Regions from separate parts of the Homo sapiens genome. Here region 2 is linked to region 1. The links are contacts of gene promoters, found by promoter capture Hi-C in human tissues and cell types (Jung and others, 2019). All regions are on one chromosome and are shown on one strand. The core of a region is centred on a gene start or on the middle of the fragment in contact, and the rest is flanking DNA. Distances in the headings are between cores, read along the strand shown.

Region 1 (4,195 bases), core at 759-3,258:
CCGCCATGTTGCCCAGGCTGGTCTCAAACTCCTGGGCTCAAGGGATCCGCAGGCCTCGACCTCCCACAGTGCTGGGATTACAGGAATGAGCCCCCACACTCAGCCCCTTGGCAGGGCTTTTGATTTTCTTCTTCCAGTCTTCCCAATTCGTGTACATGGAATCATCATTCATCCAATTGCTCAGAACAAAAATGTAACAGGATTTTTTTGAGACTTGTCCTCAAGCCCCACATCAAATCCATCAGTAAATCCTATGAACTTTACCTTCAAAATATATCGCAAATACAACCACACCTCCTTCTCCACTATTACTTTAATCCAAGTCACCATCACCTCATTTGGATTACTGCAACAGCCTCCAAACAGATCTTTGGCTTCCACTCTTACCCCAGTAAAGCAGCCAGTGATCTTTTAAAAACGTAAATCACATTATATCAGTTCCCTGTTCCAAGCCTTTCAATATAAAACCCAAGCCAAAAATCCAAATGAAATGTCTACAAACTCTTGAGAGATCAGATTATTACTTAACTAACTCTCTGACGTCTTATACTACCACTCTCTCCTCTACTCACACTTAGCTCCTGCCACATTGTCCTTCTTCCCGTTCCTTGATCACACCCCTCAGATTGTTCTCAACTTTTGGCCTTTGCACTTATAGTTCCCCATACCCCAAAGGCTCTTTCCCCATATCTCTGCATGGCTTGGGGCCCTGTTCAAATGTCACTTCCTCAGAAAGATCTTTCCTGACCATCCTGTGGCCACTACTCCCCCCAAATCCATCATTCTCAATACTCTACTTTATTTTTCTTCAAAGCATTAAACCCTATCTGACATCTTATTTAGTTGTTTGGTTGTTTATACTATTGACTTCCCCACCTTGCCGTATCTCCGGTGAGTGTCTAGAACACTGCATGGTATACAATAGGAGTTAAGTATTCCAAGAATTTAAGAATGAAAATTTAAAAATAGACAATTATTAGACCTATGAAGAGCCAGTATGAAGGATTAATGTATTTATAGTTTATCTGAAAACAATGGGAAACCATTTGTAGATCTTGAACATGAGAGCAGCAAGACAAGATCTAAATTTTGAAAACCTCATTTGGCTGTTTTGAGAATTCAATGTAGGAGAGCAAGAGGGGAAACAGGAAACGGAAAAAAAACTTGTAGAAATGAGATGGTCACCTGAACTAGATAGTTGGTAGTATGAGGAGAGTAAATTAGAGATATAACAGGAAGTAGCACAGGTAGGATCCGCCTATTGATTAGACTCACGCCAGCTCCTCCTCAACGCTCCCGTCATTCTAGCCACACTTCTATCACAGCGCCTCTCACCCTACATAGCACTTCTCCGCTAATAAATCTGTATTTTCCACTAGAGTCCTCCGGGGTAAGCACGCTATCAAGCATCCCTACAATCTCTGTTAAATGGAGGTCATCAACGCCTGTTGAATGAAGGCCGCCCATTTGGTGGCCTGGAATTCAGAGCAGCAATTTGTCCTAGCACAGCCGTATGACTCTCTTAATGTTTGGGGAAATCCATGGTTCAACAGCGCCGATGCCCGATAAACAACACAGCACCAGTAACCTGTGCCAGGGGCTGTGGACGGGGGCAACACAGGAGCAGGTCACGGGGAAGGGGGATGTAAGCTTTCTGAGCAAACTCCCAGAGCACCCAGGGCAGAAACAGGCGGCTAGAAGCCGGGCAACGCGGGTGCAGAGCACAGACCCACGTCCATGGTTTTCCTACCAGACGGGCCTGGCAGCGGACGCACTGGCCTCCCCCGGGCGGCGCTGGCTCAGCCACCGCGGCACCCTTCATGAGGCCGGTATTCCGCTCTTGCACCTCCCCCAAAGCCCAGAGAAGACGAGACAGACACTCACGCAGGCTAGGTGTCGGGACCGGAGTGGCCGAGTAGACGGCAGTGGAGAATGCACGCAGAGTCCTTGCCCTCGACTGCAGAGACAGCCATGCTGGGAGCGCGGCGGCCGCCATGGCTGCGAGGACGGCAAGCCGGAGGGGACAAGCGGCGTTCAGTGTCAGGGGCGGGCCTGGGGCCGCTAAGCGCAGGCTCCCTGGGCTGGCACCGCCCTAGGCTGGAGAAAGAGGAAACACGTTGGTCTGCGCACTCAGAGCCGAGTCAAATGTGCAGGAAGATTCCCCCAAACTGAAAGAAGTAATGAAAAGAAAACAAAAAAAATCCTTAAAAATCGAGTGAATCAGTTCGTAGAGAATTGCAGATAAAGACCGTAGGGATAGGGGTTGCGGCTCACTGAAGGCGGGCGTGCTCTGGGTGGAACCTCAGTTGATCCGAGAGTCAGGCGGTCTACCCGAGGGACTCTTGTTATTTATAATTGTTGCTTTTCTACATTTACTTGGATTAAAGAAGTCTTCAACTAATGCCAGTAATATGCGCTAAGGGGAGAGAAGCAGTATCCCGAGCCAGAGTGCTTGGGTTTCAAACTTGACTTCACCACTTCTGGGATGTATGATCTCAGACAAGTTAGCATAGACAAATATTTGTGTACAGCGTTGGCATACAGTGAACACCGCGTGTACGTAGCCTATAACTTTTAGCTATATATGGTTAGCTTGTTGTTAGATCAGCTTAGAATTACAGAAAGTCAGAACTCATCAGGACCTAGAAAATAAACTTTTAATGAACACTCTTAAATTTTCTACGGTAGGATGAATTAACATACAAGCCTTAATAAAACAATTCTCGGCCGGACGCGGTGGCTCGCGCCTGTAATCCCAGCACTTTGGGATCCCGAGGCGGGTGGATCACCTGAGGTCAGGAGTTTGGGACCAGCCTGACCAACATGGAGAAACCTGGTCTCTACTAAAAATACAAAATTAGCCGGGTGTGGTGGCACATGCCTGTAATCCCAGCTACTCGAGAGAAGAATCGCATGAACCCGGGAGGCAGAGGTTGCGATGAGCCGAGATCGCGCCATTGCACTCCAGCCTGGGCAATAAAAGCAAAACTCCGCCTCAAAAATAAAATAAAATAAAATAAATTCTCTATTTTCTCTTTATTTTAAAAATTATTTTAATTAATTAATTAATTATTATTATTTTTGAGACAGAGTCTTGCTCTGTTGCTAGGCTGGAATGTGGTAGCAGGACCATGGCCCACTGCAGCCTTGACCTCCCAGGCTCAAGTGATCCTCCTACCTCAGCCTTTCAAGTAGCTGAGGCTACAGGCACGCACCACCACACCCAGCTAATTAAAAAAAAAATTGTTTTTCCAGAGATGAGGTCTCACAGTGTTGCCAGGGCTGGTCTCAAACTCTTGGGTTCAAGCGATCCTCCTGCCTTGGCCTCCCAAAAAAGTGATAGGACTACAGGCGTGAGCTACTGCACCTGGCCTATTTTTTCTATTTTTAAGTTTTTTGTAGAGTTGGGGGTCTTGCTATGTTGTCCAGGCTGGTCCCAAACTCTTGGCTTCATGTGATCCTCCTGCCTTGGCCTCCCAAAATGTCGGGATTACAGGCATGGGTCTGGCCTATTTCCCTATTTTGTCTCAAAGTGACAAAATTATAACAGTAAAAACAACTAAAAATAAACAAAACCGATTCTTGGTAAGCATACAACCAGTAGAGCAGAGGTATGCAGGTGTCCAAGAATATTCTAGCTGTGAACATTCAGTGCGCCATGGACATCAATCAGTAAGGTATGGGAGGGGGACAAATAGCATGAGATGGACAAGTATTTGTAATATTCATCATCTTCATCTTTTCTGGACTTTTACCATCCTGTTATTGTTCCAAAATAGAAGCATGATGTATGAGTTTCCTAGGGGATTGGAACAAAGTACCGTAAACTGGGTGACTTAAAACAACAGAAATTTCCTCTCTCACAATCCTGGAGTCTGGAAAGTCCAAAATCCAGGTGTCGGCAGGGTTGGTTCCTTCTGGAGGTTCTGAGGGAGAATCTGTTCCATGCCTCCCTCCTAGCTTCTAATGGTTGCTGGCACTCCTTGGCTGGTAGACACATCACATCACATCACCTTCTGCCCCCATATTCCAATGGAGTTCTCTCCTCTCCTCGGACTATTTTTAAGATCAAAATCATGGCCTTTTTAATCAGATGGAGGTGAGGTTTGAATCCAGGCTCTGGTTCTTTATGATTTTGGGCAAATCTACCTTATCTTTCTGAGTTTCAGTTTCAAGGAAAATGACAGCAATAATA
Region 2 (4,195 bases), core at 1,031-3,530, 650 kb after region 1:
GTCCCCTGCAGCCAAGGGCAGTTTCAAATGAAGGATGAACCTATGAGCCAGCACTTCCAGCAGCTTGGGAATGAGTACATCATCCCTGAAGATGAGATCAAGATGGAGACCATAATACCTACCTTCTCCTTACAGACACATTTAAATTGGGACACATTCTCTTTTCATTCTTCTACTCATTGTATATCAGGGCAGTTTACAGAGCACCTTATTGCAGCCATCCCAGTCTCTTTACATATCTCCCCTACTTCCTTTTCTTTGGGACTATTCACATTTATACAGTCAGATATCATTTTATAATTTTTCCCTTTTTTCTGTTACATACGCTGTATTCATCTGTTCTCACGCTGCTAATAAAGGCATACCCAAGGCTGGGTAATTTATAAAGGAAAGAGGTTTAATGGACTCACAGTTCCACATGGTTGAGGAGGCCTCATGATCATGGTGGAAGGCAAATGAGAAGCAAAGGCACGTCTTACATGGCAGCAGGCAAGAAAGAATGAGAGAGCCAAGAGAAAGGGGAAACCCCTTATAAAGCCATCAGATCTCATGAGACTTATTCACTACCACAAGAACAGTGTGGGGGAAGCTGCCCCCATGATTCAATTATCTCCCACCAGGCCCTTCCCACAACATGTGGGAATTATGCAAGCTACAATTCAAGATGAGATTTGGGTGGGACACAGCCAAACCATATCATATAGTGTTTTTCTGAATCTTTATAAATCTGCTTTTTTAAACCTATACATTCTGTTAGAATGCTATTATTTCATAGTAACTTTCTCCCATATAACCAATCTTTTCTTTCTTGTTGGTTAGAAAAAAATTTTTGAATATTATTTGCCATTTTGGTTTTCTCTACTTTCTAAGAATGTTTTAGTTAGAGTTATTGGTTGCAAACAACAGAAAATAAATCTGGCTCCGTTAAGGAGAAAAATAATTTGGGGAAGGGTTAAAGGTTGCACAATAAGCAAGAAAACTTACCAAACTTAGGCATGAAGCTAGACAGACAAAGCACAGCCAAGATCCTGCCCAAAGAGCCATTGGTGTAGGATGTTCTGCTGGCAATGATCCTGCGGGAGAAACAGCTGTGCTGCTGGTGTCTGCTGCCTCTGGATGCTAACTCTCAGGCCTCTGAACTTACAATGTCTCTGTAGATAAAGTAACTGTACTCATGTTACAGTCCATGCTCTAGCTACCAGAATTAAGGAGAAAGGCTGGGCCAGGCAGGGTGGCTCGTGCCTGTAATCCCAGCACTTTGGGAGGCCAACGCAGGTGGACTGCATAAGATCAGGAGTTCAAGACCTGCCCGACCAACATGGTGAAACCCCATCTCTACTAAAAATACAAAAATTTGCCAGGTGTGGTGTCAGTTGCCTATAATCCCAGCTACTCAGGAGGCTGAGGCAGGAGAATGGCTTGAAGCCAGGAGGCGGAGGTTGCAGTGAGCCAAAGTCGTGCCACTGCACTCTAGAAGACAGAGCAAGACTCTGTCTAAAAAAAAAAAAGGAGAAAGACTATCATTCCCCTGCAGCTTCCATGTAGTAAACAGAGACTGGCATTCCTTATATTTCCCCTTGTGACTCTCCCAAAGAGGAAGGTGGTCATATAATGAGCTACCAAAATAATAAATGACCATTAACACAAGACTCAAAAAATGCAAGAATTTTAGCTGCACAAGGTGGCTCACGCCTGTAATCCCAGCACTTTGGGAGCCCAAGACTGGCAGATCACCTGAGGTCAGGAGTTTGAGACCAGCCTGGCCAACATGGCGAAACCCCGTCTCTATTAAAAATACAAAAATTAGCCGGGTGTGGTGGCAGGCGCCTGTAGTCCCAGCTACTCGAGAGGCTGAGGCAGGAGGGTCTCTGGAACCCAGGAGGTGGAGGCTGCAGTGAGCTGCGATCATGCCACTGCACTCCAGCCTGGGAAAAGAGTAAGAATCTGTCTCCAAAAAAAAAGAAAGAAAGAAAAAAATGTAAGAATTTGTCAATAGTATCCCTTTAAGATAATTAGTTTTCAGAATGTTGGTATATTTGGATTCTTACATGCCACTTTTACTTGCCCCTCTGAAATGTTTATAATTTATGTTAGGAGAGCATCTTTTTAAAAATAATTAATTAATTTGAAAAGTTTTTGTAGACAAGGTCTTGCTGCATTGCCCAGACTGGTCCTGAACAGGGTTCAAGTGATCCTCTCACCTCGGCCTCCCAAAGTGCTCCAATTACAGGTGTGAGCCACTCAGATAAGGAAGCATTTTTTTATATAATCTGCTGTTCTATGTCCTTATTATACTCCAACAACAATAGCATTTTTGTTTGTTTCTGTTTTTATTCTAGTCTGAGGTCTTATCAGATGTTACAAATGTGTTCTGTGGGGGAAAATAATACGTCTTCAATCATATAAAATGAGAAGTGCCATCAACTATAACTCTCTTTTGAACACAGTAGCATATGAAAGGTTTTGAGAAATCCAGAAGTAAAGAGGTAGATGTAGGCTGGGCACACTGGCTCATACCCGTAATCCTGGCACTTTGGGAGGCCGAGGCAGGAGGATCTCTTGAGGCCAGGAGTTCAGCAAAAATGGGACTGTGGCTCCCAGAATCCTGTGCGATCACTGGAATTCCTAGCTTCCTGCAAAACAGCAGTGGCAGTGTGGTGTTAGAAGTCTCAGCAGCACAGCACTCATGGGATCTGAGCAATGTTCCTTTCCCTTTTGCTCCTCCAGCCTTGGGAGTTGGCAGCTTCCAGTACTTACTGATATCTGGGTAGCATCCATTCACCTTTTTGTCTCTTCAGCTCCACTAACACTTTTGCAAACTACCCGCTGTGTTAATGGCTCAGTGTTAGAAATACCTAGAGTGGTTTCTGTTGTTCTGATAGATCACTTAAATATACAAACATGGTATTTTCCCCCAAGAAAACATATTAACATGTTGTATGACTACAGTATTTTGTACACCATATTTTGGGAAATACCTAGAGTTATTTATATTGTTCTGACTAGACACTGAAATATACAAACATGGTACTTTCTCCCCAGAAAACCTATTGACTTTTATGATGATGATATTCTGTATGACATAATTTATTTAGGAAATGCAAATAGCCCAAATCTCCTTCACTTTTGTTTTCTAGTTGTTTTTTCTGCAAATAGGCACTTTGACTACTATACTACTATTATTATTCACATTATATTACCTTTTTTTTTTTTTGAGACAAGTCTCACTCTGTTGCCCAGGCTGGAGTACCGCGATCATGGCTCACTGCAGCCTCAACCTCCTGGGCTCAAGCAGTCCTCCCACATCAGCCTCCTGAGTAGCTGGGAGGATCACTTGAGACCAGGAGTTCAGGACCAGCCTGGGCAATGCAGCAAGACCTTTTTAATTAATTAATTAATTAATTAATTAATTACTTTTTAAAAGATGCTTCCCTAATATAAAAATACAAATACCATTGTATTTTTAGTAGAGACAGGGTTTTGTCATGTTGCCCAGGCTGGTTTCAAACTTCTGAGCTCAAACAATCTGCCTGTCTTGGCCTCCAAAAGTGCTGGGATTACAGGTGTGAGCCACCACACCCAGCATATTACATATTTTTAACCAAAGTTTCACTTAAATTCTATATTCCATATACATGTTCCACCCAAGAATTCTTATTGATACCTATAAAATCAAATATCAAGCTTATTTTATTCACCATCATTCTGTCTACTGATATATGGATATAACTCTCAACCAACCCATTTATTTATTCTTGAGATAACTTATATGCAGAGTAAGGTGCATAAATCTTACATATACAGTTTAATGAATTTTTACATAAGCATCAACTAAAGATACAGACATTTCCAGCATTCCACAAAGCTTCCTCCTGCCATTCCATCAATACTTCATTAAAAATGATGACTATCTGAATTTTACCACAGATTAGTTCTACTTGTTTTTGAACTACATACAAATGAAATCATACAATATATTATTTTTATGTCTATCTTCTTTCAATATTTTGTGTGTGAGTTCATCTATGTTGTTGAATGTGGTTTGTTCATTTTTATTTCTGTATCATTATTATATCACTATCATTCATTCACAATTTATTTATTCATTTGACTCACGATGAACATTTGAATTTTTATCAGGTTAGGGCCATTACTGTAATTGCTATGAACACATTCATCCATGTCTTTTGGTGGA

Evidence for each region. Contacts are between HindIII fragments. The study calls those that stand out against the background at their distance.
Region 2: a fragment that was not itself captured here is called in contact with the fragment with the promoter of MRPS35 in region 1 in 1 of the 25 tissues and cell types used here (lymphoblastoid cells).

What each region holds. Positions count from the first base shown.
Region 1 is chr12:27,708,645-27,712,839 of GRCh38, reverse strand. It overlaps MRPS35 (mitochondrial ribosomal protein S35), which reads right to left and starts at 2,008. Exons shown (of 8, transcript NM_021821.4): 1 at 1,885-2,008. The coding sequence starts at 1,996. It overlaps MRPS35-DT (MRPS35 divergent transcript), which reads left to right and starts at 2,093. Exons shown (of 5, transcript XR_001749448.2): 1 at 2,093-2,177. RefSeq lists enhancers at 1,588-2,377, 2,388-2,467, 2,498-2,577. The HindIII fragment of the contact is 7,635 bases long and covers 1-4,195 here.
Region 2 is chr12:27,057,783-27,061,977 of GRCh38, reverse strand. No RefSeq gene overlaps it. Among named protein-coding and RNA genes, the nearest start is that of C12orf71, 23 kb to the left of the region's middle. The HindIII fragment of the contact is 4,112 bases long and covers 225-4,195 here.